Linked DNA regions of Homo sapiens: region 2 is linked to region 1. The links are contacts of gene promoters, found by promoter capture Hi-C in blood cells and fetal thymus (Javierre and others, 2016). All regions are on one chromosome and are shown on one strand. Each heading gives the region's core, a stretch centred on a gene start or on the middle of the fragment in contact. The rest is flanking DNA. Distances are from core to core; before and after follow the strand shown. Region 1 holds the start of MKRN3 (makorin ring finger protein 3). Region 2 overlaps GABRA5 (gamma-aminobutyric acid type A receptor subunit alpha5).

Region 1 (3,688 bases), core at 674-3,173:
GTTGTTATGAATGTTATTAATTTTAAATGTTTACTTCAAATGTTATTGATGATAGAGAAATAAAAATGATTTTCATATATTGGACTCCTGTCCAGTGTCCTTGCTAAATGTACCTATTAAATCTAATAGCTTATCTGTAAATTATTCTCAATTTTCTGTTGCATTCCATCAATAATTTCTTTCCAGTTATAACATCTTTTATTTCTTTGCTATTACACTAGCTAGGACTTGCAATAATAAATACAGATTTTTTTTGCCTTTAGATTTATTTCAGAGAGAAAGTTTTAGAGACCTTTATTTAGATAATTATCTAAATTACAGATGTAATTTAACAGATCCATATTCACATGTATTTCTGCTCCTGTCATTTTTACTAATAGATGTTTCCACCAATATGACTATTTCATGTAACTTTTCAAGTTTTATCTCCTAACTTTGTTCCTGATATTCTCTAATGATTTTTAATGTCTGTTATTAATGTAGTGATAACATATTTGAAATTACTGATCTTGGGTATTAGAGCCTTCTTCATTTTTCCTTGATAAATTTCACCAGAAATTATCTGGCTTCAATAAGCAGTTTAAGGGATTTTACTTAATTTATTTCCCTTATTTAATATTTGTTTTTCTTCATTGCTTTTCTTGCCCTTATTATTTGCTTCATTCTGCTTTCATTGCTTTTACCTACTTAATTATAATTTAATTTGTTGACTTGGGTGATTATAAATATTCAGATATGTTTCCACTTTACAGATTTAGGCAACAAAATTTCCTCAAAGAAACTTATAGAAAAAAAATCCAATAATATATAAAATGATATATCATGACAGAAGGGCTTCTTATTAGAAACAAATTGGTTAGTTAAATATTTGAAACTCATAGCTGCAAATAATCACATTAAGAGAATAAAGGGAAAAACAAAATTGTCTCAAAAAATGTATAAAACTACATAACAGAATTCAGTATGCAGTCATGATACGTACTCTCAGCAAAGTAGGAATACAAAAAAATGATTAATCTACTACATTTATCTGCAAAAATGACAAAACGCTCATACATGGAAATTAAAGACCATTCCTTTGTGGATAATATGGCACAGGATATGTTATGAAAGGCTGTCCTGCCACAACACAGCACAGATGGGGTTGAAAGAAAGGAAGGGAAACAAAGGGCTGCCATGAATTAAACCAGTAGAGAAAATAAAAGCCTGGGTCATGCAGGGGACAGTGTCTTATTAGGCCAGCATCAGGACTGGTTGAAGTCTGGCGCTTCTAACACAGTGGGAAAATGAGCATAGTAATCACAATAAAGAAAGACATCTGAAAGGTGCTAACTTAGCCTCGGATCAGAAGTGCTCTCTGCTAATGCCTTGCTGGTGAAAAGCGTATCCAGTGTAAGCCCTCAGAAATCCCAGAAAACAAAGACCAAAAGAAACGGCGCCTTGTCAACCGAACGAATTGAAAAAAGCTTCCTGCCGCGATCGGGCATTAAAAGAAAAAAACCACAGACATAAGATGGAGTGAATAAAAAAAGAATTTATATAATTCATGGATGAAATGTTTCAGAATCTATAGGATTATATTTTTTTTAAGGCAGACAGATACGAAAATACAACGAAGCGTGCATGACCGAAACCAGAAGAGATTAAAGTAAAACCTCATTCTCCTGAGGAAATCGTGTGAGAAGGGACTTAGGGACTGCCGGAACACAGCGAAGCAGAGGCAGAAGGCAGACAAAAGGGGCTGGGTTGGTCCCCGCCTGTGTGAACGAAAAAATATGTCAGATTGGAAAATTGCGGTAAAAACCAGGCAGAGCACGTACGTTGCCCCCACAGGAAGTGTCCGCCATGCTGCCTGTGCCCGGAAGTAGGTAGGAACACACAGTCAGAGGGACCCAAAAGCAGGGGGGAAGGAAAAAGAGATGCACACTTCCCCCAGAGAAGCCTCCGAGCGCGGCCGCCATTCCGGGCCTCAAGCCCATAAAGAAAAAATACCGGAGAGGTTCTGGCACCATTTCGGGGTGCCAAAGCAGCCATGGAAGAGCCTGCAGCTCCCTCAGAAGCCCACGAGGCAGCCGGGGCCCAGGCAGGTGCTGAGGCAGCAAGGGAGGGTGTGTCTGGGCCGGACCTTCCCGTCTGTGAGCCCTCCGGGGAATCTGCTGCTCCAGATTCAGCCCTGCCACATGCGGCAAGGGGCTGGGCCCCCTTCCCTGTAGCTCCAGTCCCTGCCCACCTCCGCAGAGGAGGCCTGAGGCCTGCCCCAGCCTCAGGAGGAGGAGCCTGGCCCAGTCCGTTGCCAAGCCGAAGCAGCGGCATTTGGACAAAGCAGATCATCTGCAGGTATTATATACATGGGCAGTGCAAGGAGGGGGAGAACTGTCGCTATTCGCACGACCTTTCTGGTCGGAAGATGGCCACTGAGGGTGGCGTTTCGCCGCCTGGGGCCTCTGCAGGTGGAGGCCCTAGCACGGCTGCGCACATCGAGCCCCCGACTCAGGAAGTGGCGGAAGCCCCCCCGGCTGCATCCTCCCTTTCCTTGCCTGTGATTGGCTCGGCTGCTGAAAGGGGTTTCTTTGAAGCCGAGAGAGACAATGCAGACCGTGGAGCTGCTGGAGGAGCAGGTGTAGAAAGCTGGGCGGATGCCATTGAGTTTGTTCCAGGGCAGCCCTACCGGGGCCGCTGGGTTGCATCTGCCCCCGAGGCTCCTCTACAGAGCTCAGAGACTGAGAGGAAGCAGATGGCTGTGGGCAGTGGGTTGCGGTTTTGCTATTATGCTTCCAGGGGAGTTTGCTTTCGTGGGGAGAGCTGTATGTACCTCCATGGAGACATATGCGACATGTGTGGGCTGCAGACCTTGCACCCCATGGATGCTGCCCAGAGGGAAGAACATATGAGGGCCTGCATTGAAGCACACGAGAAAGATATGGAACTCTCGTTTGCTGTGCAGCGTGGTATGGACAAGGTGTGTGGCATCTGCATGGAGGTTGTCTATGAGAAGGCCAACCCCAATGACCGCCGCTTTGGCATTCTTTCCAATTGCAACCATTCCTTCTGTATTAGGTGTATCCGCAGGTGGAGAAGTGCCAGACAGTTTGAGAACAGGATCGTCAAGTCTTGCCCACAGTGCAGGGTCACCTCTGAATTGGTCATTCCCAGTGAGTTCTGGGTGGAGGAGGAGGAAGAGAAGCAGAAACTTATTCAGCAATACAAGGAGGCAATGAGCAACAAGGCCTGCAGGTATTTTGCGGAAGGCAGGGGTAACTGCCCATTTGGAGACACATGCTTTTACAAGCATGAATACCCTGAGGGCTGGGGAGATGAGCCTCCTGGGCCAGGTGGTGGGTCATTCAGCGCATACTGGCATCAACTTGTGGAGCCTGTGCGAATGGGAGAGGGCAACATGCTCTATAAAAGCATTAAGAAGGAGCTTGTCGTGCTTCGGCTGGCCAGTCTGTTGTTTAAGCGGTTTCTTTCACTGAGAGATGAGTTACCCTTCTCTGAGGACCAGTGGGACTTGCTTCATTATGAGCTGGAAGAATATTTCAATTTGATTCTGTAGCATCGTGCTGTGGCATGTGGTCTAGTCTGCTGAGGTTCTGTCGTCTGCTATTGCCTGTTTTCCCTGTGTTGACACTCTTACTGCTTTCAGGGGCTGTTGAGGCAGTGCTTCTGTTTTCTTGTCTATTCTGCA
Region 2 (3,688 bases), core at 595-3,094, 3.3 Mb after region 1:
TAGCTTAGAAAACTTTAATTTCACCATTAAGATCTGCTTTTTCTACTAGTACCTCAATTGGTAAGATAAAGAGACAGCAAAGACCTTCCAAAAACTGAGCACCTGGACGTGGTCTAAAATTGAGTTGCAAACTCGGTGACAATTATGAAGTCCATGAGAAGTGCATCATGAAGCCAGATCTGGTTTGACCAATAGTTACACAACTGGGCAGGTACAAAATATAACCTTCTTTTTTCCCCCTGCAAAACTCTGAAGAAGAAGGCTGTTCACTGGGAGGAGCTATGCTAGGCTTAGTGCTATGTCTTTCCGAAGTGTGCAACTACCATGGATGTTGGAGAAAGGGGAATTTAATGTTTTTAAATATGAAATCACAGAGTTAAAAAAGTATACATCTGTGGGCTCCGTACTAACAGGAGTGAATTTTAGCTTGTTAGAGCTTCAAGTATATGCATTTTTATGGTGATGTGAAACTTAGATCAAAAGAGCATTATTCCTTTATTCTTTATTCTCTCATTCTATTCAAAAGGGAATAGCTTTAGGGCCAGCAAAGAATTGATCTGTTAGATGCAATCAATAAAAATGACTGACTTTTAAGAACAGGGTGGAGCAGGCCTGCATCGATTCTGACCTCAGCATCTCTCCATGGCTGGTGGCTCTCAGCTCTGATTTCAGCCTTTTCATGGGAGAGAAAGCACTTTAAGCACAGCTAGGGCCCCACAGCTGGGCACTTCAGGGAAGTACCAGGAATCACATGTTCTTCTCCCAAGTGCCCAGGGCACTCGCTTCTTGGGAACCACAGCTGGCTTTCAGTTTGGTAAGTCCCCTTGAAGCCAAATTTGCAGTCAAGTGCTCAGTAATTCAAAACCAGTTGCTATTTGCACATCTGAAAGCAGCTGTAGAAACCTGAGGTGGGATCCATGCTCTTCAGCTGTGGGGCTGTCTTCTGGGCTTGTGGTCTCTCTGTCCCCCCAGATACCATCCTCAGTTTGTCTAGATCTGCTAGGGCAGTTTCTAGTTTTGTTCTGCTCATATTACATAAGCTTTTGGAATCTGGATAACTTGATTGAACAAACAAAAAATGTTCTTGTGTCTTCCCTGAGGGTCAGCCCACTTTTCTTGAGGGCTTATTGTGTGACGCTGGGTCCCACAGAATGTGTTGTGAGCTGGCACACTGAAGGGGCAGGACCCCAGAGATGACACAGACTCCATCATGTCTGTCACTCACTCTCCAATCCTGGCATATTATTCACAGCACAAATGCTCCCAGACCAACTAAGGATGCAGTGAGGTTTGGGAACAACAACCTCGGAAAGTTTCTCAGCGTCCCCTCCATGCCCCAGCGCCCAGTGCAGGTGACTCTAGCAATATGAGAACTCGGTTTTTGTGTGTTTAAACCAAACTTCTGAAATCCCCTGTGAGTGGATTAGGCTCTGCCAGTCCATGCGCAATGGCTAATTGGTTGTTAAAAATGGCTAAAATATTGACATAAACCAATTCCTTAGAATCACAGAATGATAGACTTTGAGCCTCAGGTTAGGTGGTTGGATAACTAGCCCCAAGCAGAGTATCCTTGGATGTTGGAGAACTGAGGTGTATCAAGGCCAAACAATCCCCTAGGCACTATGGGAGCTGTGTTCTCAGATCCTCGTCTCAGGAGACAAGCCTCCACGTGACTCCCTGGTTTCTGTATCTTGAGAAGAATTTGTAAGAAATAATATGTTTTAACGCTTCCTCTTGTTTCTCTTTTTAAAAGCTTTTCACAGATGCCAACCAGTTCAGTGAAAGATGAGACCAATGACAACATCACGATATTTACCAGGATCTTGGATGGGCTCTTGGATGGCTACGACAACAGACTTCGGCCCGGGCTGGGAGGTGAGTGTGCTCTCCTCAGCTGAGCCCAGCAAGGATCCAGGAAGGGCTTAAGTCTCGTCTCAAGCTTGTGTTTGCGCTGATTCAAACAATTCCTAAAAGAGCTTCCCTGCCAGGATTTTGGTATGATGGCTGTTCCACTCTTGCCAAGAATCATGCACCCTTTGTTATTGTCTAGACGCAAGATCCTTTGTTATTTTCTAGACGCAAGATCCTTTGTTATTTCTAGGTGGAAGAAGCTGGGGGAAGTGGTCTTCCCAAACATCTTTGCAAAATCCCCTCTTCCCAGATAATCTTAATGTCTAGTCTGGTTAACTTAAGGAGGAACCAGCTTTTAGGCGTTACTAAAGCTGAGATTACCCTATGTTAAGAAATAATATAAAATCAACCTCATAGTCTTGTATCTATGCGAGTCCTTTTCAGAAATCCACTGTGGAATGCAGTCATCCTTTATATCTTTATGGGTTATGCATTTAGTGCTTCACTATGGCCATAGTCCTAGTATTTACTTTGACTTTGTGGAATTCAATAAAAATGAACTGATGTAGATTGTTCTTGTAGGGCACACCTGGCACAGCTTCATTGTTGTGCTAAGAATTGTGTGCAGTTTCCAGGCATGTGCAATCCCCTTGGCTCTACAGTTTAGATGTGGAGTCTGAACTTGTTGGGTTAGGTGAGGTAGACACTTTCCAGTGAATACATTCTTGGAGGAAAAAATTTAGTTGTCTAGTGTTTGCATTTTTTTTTTATTTGAGATGGAGTTTCGCTCCTGTTGCCCAGGCAGGAGTGCAATGGCATGATCTCGGCTCACTGCAACCTCTGCCTCCCAGGTTTAAGTGATTCTCCTGCCTCAGCCTCCGGAGTAGCTGGGATTACAGGTGCACACCACCATGCCCAGCTAATTTTTGTGTTTTTAGTAGAGATGGGGTTTCACCATGTTGGCCAGGCTGGTCTTAAACTCCAGACCGCAGGCGATCCACCCACCTCGGCCTCCCAAAGTGCTGGGATTACAGGTGTGAGCCACAGTGCCCCGCCTAGTATTTGCATTTTTAACAGGGAGATCCACTTAAAGCATGAGTTGCCACTCTCTGCCTTTTGGGCACAGGCTCCTTAACAGTCTCTTACTCTGCCCTCTGAATTATGTTCCTAGGCCTGTGTGCCCAGCAGTCCAGTCCCTTGAACACACTCAGAAGGGTCAGAGCATCTAGAGGAGCCCTAAGCTGCTGTCAGTGCTTGTGGTATTCTCTCATCCTCTCTGCCTTCCAGTCCTACAGAGTAGGAGGATACCATGGAAAGCCTCCCGGGCCACCCTGCTGGGGCTGGCATCTCAGTGAGGAGACAGGCACACTGCATCATACAACACACAGCATCACACAGACACCTGCCCACGCACAGATGCACGCCATGCAGACGATCATCACACCGCGAGCTGCTGGAGAGGCAGGCCCACAGTGCGGCTGGAAGTTACCCGGTGTGGGCTGCAGTGCACTTTGAATTGCTTCCTACTCATGACCACGGGGACTTACAGGGCTGTGGTAGTGCCCAGGGAAGTACACAGGTTTTCCCCCAAATATTATTAGCCACTTTTATCACTTTACCTATTTCCAATAATTTTGTTTGAAATCACAGTCTCCCATGATAGGGCTTTCTATAATAACAGTTCGAAACGCTACATAAAGAGAAGTGGGTCTTCCTGTCTCAGGGCGCACTGGGCACATTCTCAACATCGTTTCCCGGAGACCACCCAGGACCTCCTGCTTTGATTGGAAAGTCAGCTCCCCTCATCCTGAATTGTCTGATGCTTTTTAAAGCCCCT

What was found. Contacts are between HindIII fragments. The CHiCAGO score rates a contact against its expected background, and 5 or more counts as called.
Region 2: a contact is called between a fragment that was not itself captured here and the fragment with the promoter of MKRN3 in region 1, in 1 of 17 cell types (endothelial precursors). The highest score is 7.9, in endothelial precursors.

The regions. Positions count from the first base shown.
Region 1 is chr15:23,563,751-23,567,438 of GRCh38, forward strand. It overlaps MKRN3 (makorin ring finger protein 3), which reads left to right and starts at 1,924. Exons shown (of 1, transcript NM_005664.4): 1 at 1,924-3,688. The coding sequence starts at 2,033. The coding sequence ends at 3,556. The HindIII fragment of the contact is 4,614 bases long and covers 1,465-3,688 here.
Region 2 is chr15:26,879,093-26,882,780 of GRCh38, forward strand. GABRA5 (gamma-aminobutyric acid type A receptor subunit alpha5) reads left to right here. Exons shown (of 11, transcript NM_000810.4): 4 at 1,754-1,875. Among named protein-coding and RNA genes, the nearest start is that of GABRA5, 14 kb to the left of the region's middle. The HindIII fragment of the contact is 186 bases long and covers 1,752-1,937 here.